Linked DNA regions of Homo sapiens: region 2 is linked to region 1. Evidence: promoter capture Hi-C in 16 types of primary human blood cells and fetal thymus (Javierre and others, 2016). All regions are on one chromosome and are shown on one strand. Each heading gives the region's core, a stretch centred on a gene start or on the middle of the fragment in contact. The rest is flanking DNA. Distances are from core to core; before and after follow the strand shown. Region 1 holds the start of STEAP3-AS1 (STEAP3 antisense RNA 1). Region 2 has its middle 22 kb from the start of EN1.

The links. Contacts are between HindIII fragments. The CHiCAGO score rates a contact against its expected background, and 5 or more counts as called.
Region 2: a fragment that was not itself captured here is called in contact with the fragment with the promoter of STEAP3-AS1 in region 1 in 1 of 17 cell types (monocytes); the score reaches 5.2 in monocytes.

Annotation. Positions count from the first base shown.
Region 1 is chr2:119,247,304-119,251,627 of GRCh38, forward strand. It overlaps STEAP3-AS1 (STEAP3 antisense RNA 1), which reads right to left and starts at 1,768. Exons shown (of 2, transcript NR_046721.1): 1 at 1,011-1,768. STEAP3 (STEAP3 metalloreductase) reads left to right here. Exons shown (of 6, transcript NM_182915.3): 4 at 376-903. The HindIII fragment of the contact is 11,024 bases long and covers 1-4,324 here.
Region 2 is chr2:118,867,524-118,871,847 of GRCh38, forward strand. No RefSeq gene overlaps it. Among named protein-coding and RNA genes, the nearest start is that of EN1, 22 kb to the left of the region's middle. The HindIII fragment of the contact is 1,381 bases long and covers 1,078-2,458 here.

The DNA of each region.
Region 1 (4,324 bases), core at 518-3,017:
TGAGCGGCTCCCAGGGCAGGCCACGGCCTTGGAGACAGCCATGTCGGGGGCCCATGGGGACTACCTGGATGAGCATTTTGCTTGTGGTTGCTGATGTCCACGAGCTGGGCAAGATGCTTACTGTTTGCAGCTTCCCTCCTTGAGTAGTTGGCCTGGCTTGGCAGGTGGGCCAGAGGCTGGGAGGCCTGGGCAGCAGAGAAAAGACCCCTAGCCTGGGAGCTAGAACCCCATTGGCTCCCACCTGTACCATTGACTGGCAGCTCACTTGAACAAGTCCCTGCCCCTCTGGCCCTCGGTTTCCTCAGCTGCTCAGTGAGGCCCTGCCCACTCCTGTGGCCTGTGACGCCGTCTGACTGCCCCACTTTTCTCCCGCAGGTGCCCATCTGCGGTGACCAGCCAGAAGCCAAGCGTGCTGTCTCGGAGATGGCGCTCGCCATGGGCTTCATGCCCGTGGACATGGGATCCCTGGCGTCAGCCTGGGAGGTGGAGGCCATGCCCCTGCGCCTCCTCCCGGCCTGGAAGGTGCCCACCCTGCTGGCCCTGGGGCTCTTCGTCTGCTTCTATGCCTACAACTTCGTCCGGGACGTTCTGCAGCCCTATGTGCAGGAAAGCCAGAACAAGTTCTTCAAGCTGCCCGTGTCCGTGGTCAACACCACACTGCCGTGCGTGGCCTACGTGCTGCTGTCACTCGTGTACTTGCCCGGCGTGCTGGCGGCTGCCCTGCAGCTGCGGCGCGGCACCAAGTACCAGCGCTTCCCCGACTGGCTGGACCACTGGCTACAGCACCGCAAGCAGATCGGGCTGCTCAGCTTCTTCTGCGCCGCCCTGCACGCCCTCTACAGCTTCTGCTTGCCGCTGCGCCGCGCCCACCGCTACGACCTGGTCAACCTGGCAGTCAAGCAGGTACCCACCCCATGCCCTTCCTCCCTCTGGCAACTCAGCACATGCTTGTCCAGCACCTCCCCCCCCCACCAACCAGGTGCAGCCGATACCCACGGGTGCAGCCTTACCAGGTGCCAACTGCAGATTCTGTTCCAATGGGGCAGCACCCACATCCTCCTGCCCAAGATTTTGAGTATCAGTGAACAAAGCAGATGAAAATTCCTGCCCCCATGGGTACAGCCCAGTTGGGGCAGACTTAAACAAAATACAGCAGTGAGTCATAGTGGGCGTTGAGAGGATCAGGAGTGCTAAGGCGCAAAGGAAAGCAAGCGTGGGCGGTGGGGGTGCAGGTTTGAAGATGGTCCAGGAGGACTTGCAGAGTGAGTGCTATGTGAGCAGAGCTGGAAGGAGGGGAGAGGGGCCGGTGGCCTGCTGGGGTGATGTTGCAGGCCACGGGGCATAGTCCTTGGGCAGAAGTGTGCCTGGTACGTTGGAGGAGCAGCCAGGAGGCCCATGTGGCTAAAGCTGAACAAGGAGGGGGTGGCAGGCGAGGCCTGAGAGGAAGAGCTTCAGCCTTAGGCTCCGAGTGAAATAGGGAGCTGGTGAAGGTTTGAATTTAGGTGTTGATCGGCCTGACATTTTAAGTGGTTCTCTCTGGTTTTTGGCTGAGAACAGACTGTAGGAGGTCAAAGGCAGCTAGCTGCTGGGGCCAGCGAGGAAGCCGTGCATATGCCCAGATTTGAGGCAGTGGAGGCTGGAGGCAGTGGGAGCAGTGGAGGAGCAAGGAGATCCTGAAGGCACATGTGAAGCTGGAGTGCATGGAATTGCCGCTGGAATGGCCCCAGGGTTTTGTGGGTGATCAGGGATGACTCTGGGGTTTGGGTCTGAGCACCTGAAAGAGAGAGTTGCCATCAGCTGAGATGGGGAAGGCTGCAGGAGTGAGCATTCCAGGTTTAGGTTTGTTGTTGTTGTTGTTGTTCTTTGTTTGTTTTACTGGGGGTGGCACTAATCATTCATTTAGAAAATTCATATGGGGCTTGGTTGCCAGCAGGGTTCCTGGGAAGTGGAGGACCTTCAGGCCACACCAGGTGGGGACCCAGGCATCAGCTGGCACCTGTGCCCACAGAAACAGGCCCCTGATGCTCCCTCCTGGTCCACAAGCTCATGGGGCTTGATTCTTAGTCCCAAGCTCACATCTTCAGCAACACTGTCTTTATTTTCTCCAAATTAATTCCACCTCCAGTGCCCAGCCCCGGGGCTGGTTGATGCATAGGTCCTGCCCACTCCAGGACGCTAGTCACCCAACAGGGTTCAGCCCAGGTGCTGGTGAGACACTTCTCATCCACCCCTCATTCCAGCCTGGCAGCCCCTGCAGCTCCTGCTCCTGCTCAGAATGCAGGGACCTTGGTGAGGCTGGGCCCTCCCCTAAACACCTAGCACAGGGCCATCCCCTCCGAGCATGGGGGATTGGCAGGACTGGGAAGCAGGGCTGGGCACCTCCTGAGAACCACAGACCTCAGCCCCTACTCACTGTCAGGGTTGCTGCTTCTCTGCCAGCAGCTACTCGACTGCCCTCGTCCTTTGCCACCCACAGATACCGGCATCATTGCATCTGTGGGCTCAGAATTTCCTAAGACAAAGGAAGAACCCCAGACTTCAGGCAGAAAAGCAAGATGCTTGATGGAAATGAGAGGAAGGGAAGAAATCAGTCATGAACCCTTAACAAGAGCTCGCTGTGTTCCAGGAACCATTCTAAGAGCTTCGTACACCACTGTGAATTCATTTAACCCCATCTCATCCCTGTAGGCCAGGTGCTATTATATCCTTATTTCATAGATGAGAAATCTGAGGCACAGAGGGGTCAAGTAACTTGGCCAAAGTCACACAGTCAGTAAGTAGCACAGCTGGGATTCAGATCCAGCTATTTTCCAGATCCATGCTTATACCCACGCTGCTTTCTACAGGCAAACCAAATTCACAATTGAGTAAATGATTTCAGAACTAGGTCATTCATTCACTCATTCACTGAGCACCTACTCTGCCAGGCCCTGGGGCCACAGAAAGGAGTAAGAAAGACACAGACCATCTGGCTCCTCGCCTCAGCTGGTGTGGGGCGGTGTGGAGGCCTGAAGGCTAGAGGCTGGACTCCTGCTCTCCAGCATCGCTGACTGGAACAAAGATCTTGACCTTGAGCAAGTCACAGCCCCTCTTTTGTCCTCGAGGCCCTGATGTGTAGATCAAGCTCTCTCCTAGTGCTAATGTTTTCAATGCTCTTTGACGATATTTTCTTACTGACTTCTACAAAGCACCAGCCCCTTGGCAGGAGGCTCTGCGGGGCTCCCTGGGGACTAGTACAATGTTGCTGCCCAGGACGGGGCAGATCTGCATGGAGGAGCCCACTCCCTCTCCCCTGAGCTGGCAGGTATTTCCAGCAGCAGTGGGAAAGACGGGGACGGTGCCCACTACCCCCCAGGGTAAAAGACACACCACTGCTCCCTCCCTCCCCTGCCACCCTTCAACTGCCTTTGTCTAAATTCTCTGCCCTGCCAAGGCTCTCCCTGATATTCTGTTAACCCAATTCTGCCCTGATGCAAATACCAGGGCACAGAGGGGCGCATGCAAGGTAATTTTCCCCGTGTCCCAAAAATCTTTAGGGCTGCAGGCCCTGGTGAGGTTGCCAGGCAACCATCCCTCCCGCAGGACGAGATCAGTCAGAGACACCGAAGGCCTCTCATGCAAAGGGGCTTAAACTTGTTCTGCAGAGTTCTTAAGGGCAAAACCAGGGCTGATGTGGTTATGTCGGGGTGGGTGGTCGGAGGGAGGCAGGGGCTTGACACACAGCAGCCCAGATACGGGGAGGTGCCCAAGCCTGGGCACATCCAAGCAGATTCTGGATGGTCCATGGTAAGCCATGCCCGCGGTTCTGGGCCTGGGCACCTGAGGCTGTTCTGCCTTCAGCCCCAAACAGCAGGGACTCCTGGGTGGCTCAGGCTTGATGTGTGGCTTCTGCTGCCAGCCCATGGGCACCTCACCACAGGGTCCCCACATGGCCACTCACCACCCCAACTGCCCACTAGGCCCTTGGGTCAAGGGAGCACATTAGTCTAGGCACAAGAAACTCCTCCAAGATTTCCTTACAGCCCTGAGTCTGCAGATTAGGAGGCAAAGGTGTATGCCAGCTGTAGAGAAAACCTTTGAGACCATGTTTACAGACAGTATTATTACCAACAATAACCGATATTTGTACAGGGCATTTGGATTTGCTTGTGTATTTCCCTGGAAATACACATTTCAACATCAAACTCAAAGATCAAGATCAAAGAAATGTTTAACCTGCACACTGTTCTCCTGTTACCTTCACCCCGTTCTCCTATTACCTTCACCCCAAGCTACATCTGCACATGGCTGGCACAGGATGGTCTGAAACTCTCATCTGACCATG
Region 2 (4,324 bases), core at 518-3,017, 380 kb before region 1:
CATATATTATATAACATATAACATATAACATATATTATATATAACATATAACATATAACATATATTATATATAACATATAACATATAACATATATTATATATAACATATAACATATATTATATTATATATAACATATAACATATATTATATTATATATAACATATAACATATATTATATTATATATAACATATAACATATATTATATTATATATAACATATAACATATATTATATTATATATAATATATAACATATATATTATATATAATATATAACATATAACATATATTATATATAATATAATATATAACATATATTATATATAATATAATATATAACATATATTATATATAATATAATATATAACATATATTATATATAATATAATATATAACATATATTATATATAATATAATATATAACATATATTATATATAATATAATATATAACATATATTATATATAATATAATATATAACATATATTATATATAATATAATATATAACATATATAATATATAACATATAGCATATATAATATATAACATATAACATATATTATATATAACATATAACATATATTATATATAACATATAACATATATAATATGTAACATTATATATAACATATATAATATGTAACATTATATATAACATATATAATATGTAACATTATATATAACATATGTTATATATTTCAGCCTCAAGGAAGAGGATACATCCCTACCCACTAAGTGTGGGCTGGGCTGTGCATGATGCGTTTGTTCCCTCCACGGAGTATAGGGGAAAGAGTCACTTTACAGTGTCAAAATCTGACACATACTACCTCAGCTGGGTGATCAAGGTCAGTAGCAACAGTGATAAATCATGTTAGTACATGTCTTTCATATAATGATAAAAATGGCATTTTACCTCAGTGGTCTTCCTCCCCAAAGTCCATAACCCCAGTCTAATCATGAGAAACACATCAAATAGATTCCACAGAGAGACATTCTACAAAACACCTGACCAGTACTGCTCAACTGTCAGGGTCATCAGAAACAGGGGAAGTTTGAGAAACTCTCACAGCCAAGAGAAGCTTAAGGAAATATGTCAAGTAAATGGATGGGATCTTGGAGCAGAAGACTTTAGATAAAAGCTAAGAAAATGTGAATGAACTATGGACTTTAGTTAATCATGTAGCAATATGTAACAAGGGTACCATGCTAAGGTCAATGACAGAGAAAACTGGGTGAGAGAGTCTATGGGAATTCTCTACTGTCTTCTCAATTTCCCTATGAGTTTAAAACTGTTCTAAAAATAAAGCCTGTTAAAATGGTATGGGTTCTAGAAAGTTATAGGTAAAAAGAAAATGATACCTTAAAACTGTCTCTAGATCAGGGTTGGCAAACTTTGTTTGCAAAATATCAGCTAGTAAATATTGTAGGCTTTGAAGCCTTAAGGTGTCTGTTGCGACTACTCAACTCTGCTGTTGTGTGTTACAAGAGCAGCCATATCTTAACAAGTAAGTGTGGCTGACTTCCAATAAAACTTTATTTAGCAAAAACAAAGTCCACAGGCCTCAGTTTGCAAACCCCTGCTCTCATGTATATAAATGAAGTCAAAGTGCTAGGTCACAAATTTCCATCACATTGTGGTGGAAAGCATCAAGTTGTATTGCATCAAATACACATTCATCAGAAACAGCAGAAATGGATTAACATTGAAGTCCATGTCTTGCCCAGAACTTAGCGTTTTTACTACAATTGTGTCTCACTGGGTTATTTTTTACTTCCTTCTTCTGAGAAATGCCTATTTGCAGCTTTTGCTCATTTTCTGCTGGGCTGTCCTTTTTTCTAATGCATTGGCAGGAGTTCTTTATGTATTCTGGATAGTAATCTACCAGCTACAGATGTTGCGTATATTTTCTCCTGGTCTATGGCCTGCCTTTCACTTTTCTTTTGGTGTCTTTTGATGAACAGAGTTAATTTTAATGTCGTCTGGTTTATTAATGTTTCCTTATTGTAGTTAGTGCTTTTTCTCTCTTGTGTTTAAGAAATCATCTCAAACTCAAAGTCAGAAAGATACTCTTCTATATTTTCTTTGAACAGTTTTGAAGTCTTGCCTTTCACCTGTAAATCCTCCGTGTACCTGAGATTTACTGAAAAGTACAGAATATATGGAGGAGGAAGGGATTCGATGTTATGTTTTTCTACGTGGATGCCCAGTAGTCCCATCCCTGTTGCCTCCTCCCATGTTGGTCTGGAGTGCCATCTGCCATGTCACTGAGAGGATTACATTATATAATGCAGGAAATGTGCTTGGCCTAGCCCCCAGCTTCAATTTAGTGAGACTGTGACTCTGAATTCCCCTTCCTTTCCAGGCTCTAGGGGAGCTGGGGCTCACAATCTTCTGCTTTCAATAATGCTTTTCCTAAACATGAAGACCATAATGTAACGAGGGCTTCTGGCTACAGCAAGCTTGCACATCCACCAGTGAACCAGGGTAACAGGACAGCAGCAGAAGGGGTCCTCACCCTCTGAGCACTGCAAAATGAACAGCTCGGCACTCCTCCTGCAGCTCAAACATTTGCTAAAGCACTTTTAAACAGGTCCTCAGTCAAGGACACTGGGAGATGGCAATTAAGTCTTCTTGAGACTCCAGGGGCCCTGGTGGCAGTGGCTGGGAAATCTGACCTGGTGAACAGATAAGAAATGCTTATAATTAGCACATTCAATGTGAAATACATGTGATTGCACAGATTGTAATTTTCCAAACTGTCAAGACAATTCTCCAACAACTCTTCACTCATAAGGAGGCTCAGCATGGCCATTGTATATGCTACTAATTTCCTTGTTTTCATAGAGAGCAGATAGAAACCCCAACTCACCTTGTCTATATGTCCGTCAAATCTAAATTCAAGGAATTGAAATGAATACGGACTTAATCTTACAGATATGTCTTAGATCATTTTCTTATTGAGGTAAAACTTACATTCAATAAAATTTTACAGATCTGAAGTGTCCAGCTTATGAAACTTTTCCGTATATGTACACCTGTATTATTGCCACCTAGATCTGCATATTTAACATTTCCAGCCTCCAGAAAGCTCTCTCATGCCCTTCCTGGTCATGTCTCCCTGCAGAGGTAGCCATTAGTCTGATTTCCATCATGCAGATTAGTTTTGCTTGTATCTGAAGTTCCCGTAAATGGAAGCTTTATCATGTGTACTCTTTTGCATATGGCTTCTTTAGCTCAACATTCTGCCTGAGATTCATCTGGGAGCTTTATGTAGCTAGAGTTTGCTTTTTCAATAGTAAAATGATGAATATGTGATGACACATTGTATGATCCGCCACAATTCATTTTACTATTGATGGACATTTTGGTTGTTTCCAGGTTGGGGCCATTATAAATAAGGCTGCTATGAACTTCAGTGAATATGTGTTTTGGTGCACATGTGTGCTCCTGTATGTTGAGTATAAACCTAGGAGCTGAATCTCTAGATTATGATAGGCATTGGATTTTCTTTCTTCTTTGTTTTGAAAAAAAAAGCAGCTTAATTAAGGTATAATTTATATATAAGAAATCAACCAATTTTAACTTTATAATTTTTGACAAATGTATTCAGTGTCTAAGCATGATGATCATCAAGATAGAGAACTGTTCCATCCCATCCCAAAATTCCTTTGTGCTTCTTTGCAATCACTTTCCCCTTCCCTCAGCCCCTCACAACCTCTGATTTAATTTCTTTCGGTACAGTTTTGCCTTTTCTTGTGCCCAGTTGATGATGAGTCACTCCTGAATCTCTACTGCCAGTTTTGATCTCTCTCCTGAGCTACAAACTTTCATCTCCACCTGCCTCCTAAGTGTCCCCAATGGAGAACTCTAAATGAATGAACCCTAGTGGAACCCAACACCTCTTCCTCCTCCTCCAGCAAAGTTTCCCTCCCTGTGTTCTCTGTCTCCTGAGAGAATCACTCTTAATCCTGGTGGCCAAGCCAGAAAGCTGGTTAGCACTTAATATCGACCTCCTTCCTCTCCCTACCACCCATATCCAATCAATGAGCCCTAGTCAATGCTCTCTAAATATCTCTTGGATCAACCTACTTCTTTCCAGCTCCTCTGTATTAGTTTACCATCGTCTCTGAATTGCCTCAATGTGTCTGACTTTTTGCTTCTTAGCATGAACCCCCACAGTCCATTCTCCACACTAGAGAGGAGCCCTTCTAAAGTGTGAACCTGACCAGGCCACTCTTTAGCATGAAACTTTTCAAGAGCCTCCTGGGACTTGTGGTCACACAGCTGCCTTCACACGAGGCCTCTTCCCTACCTTCATCCCAG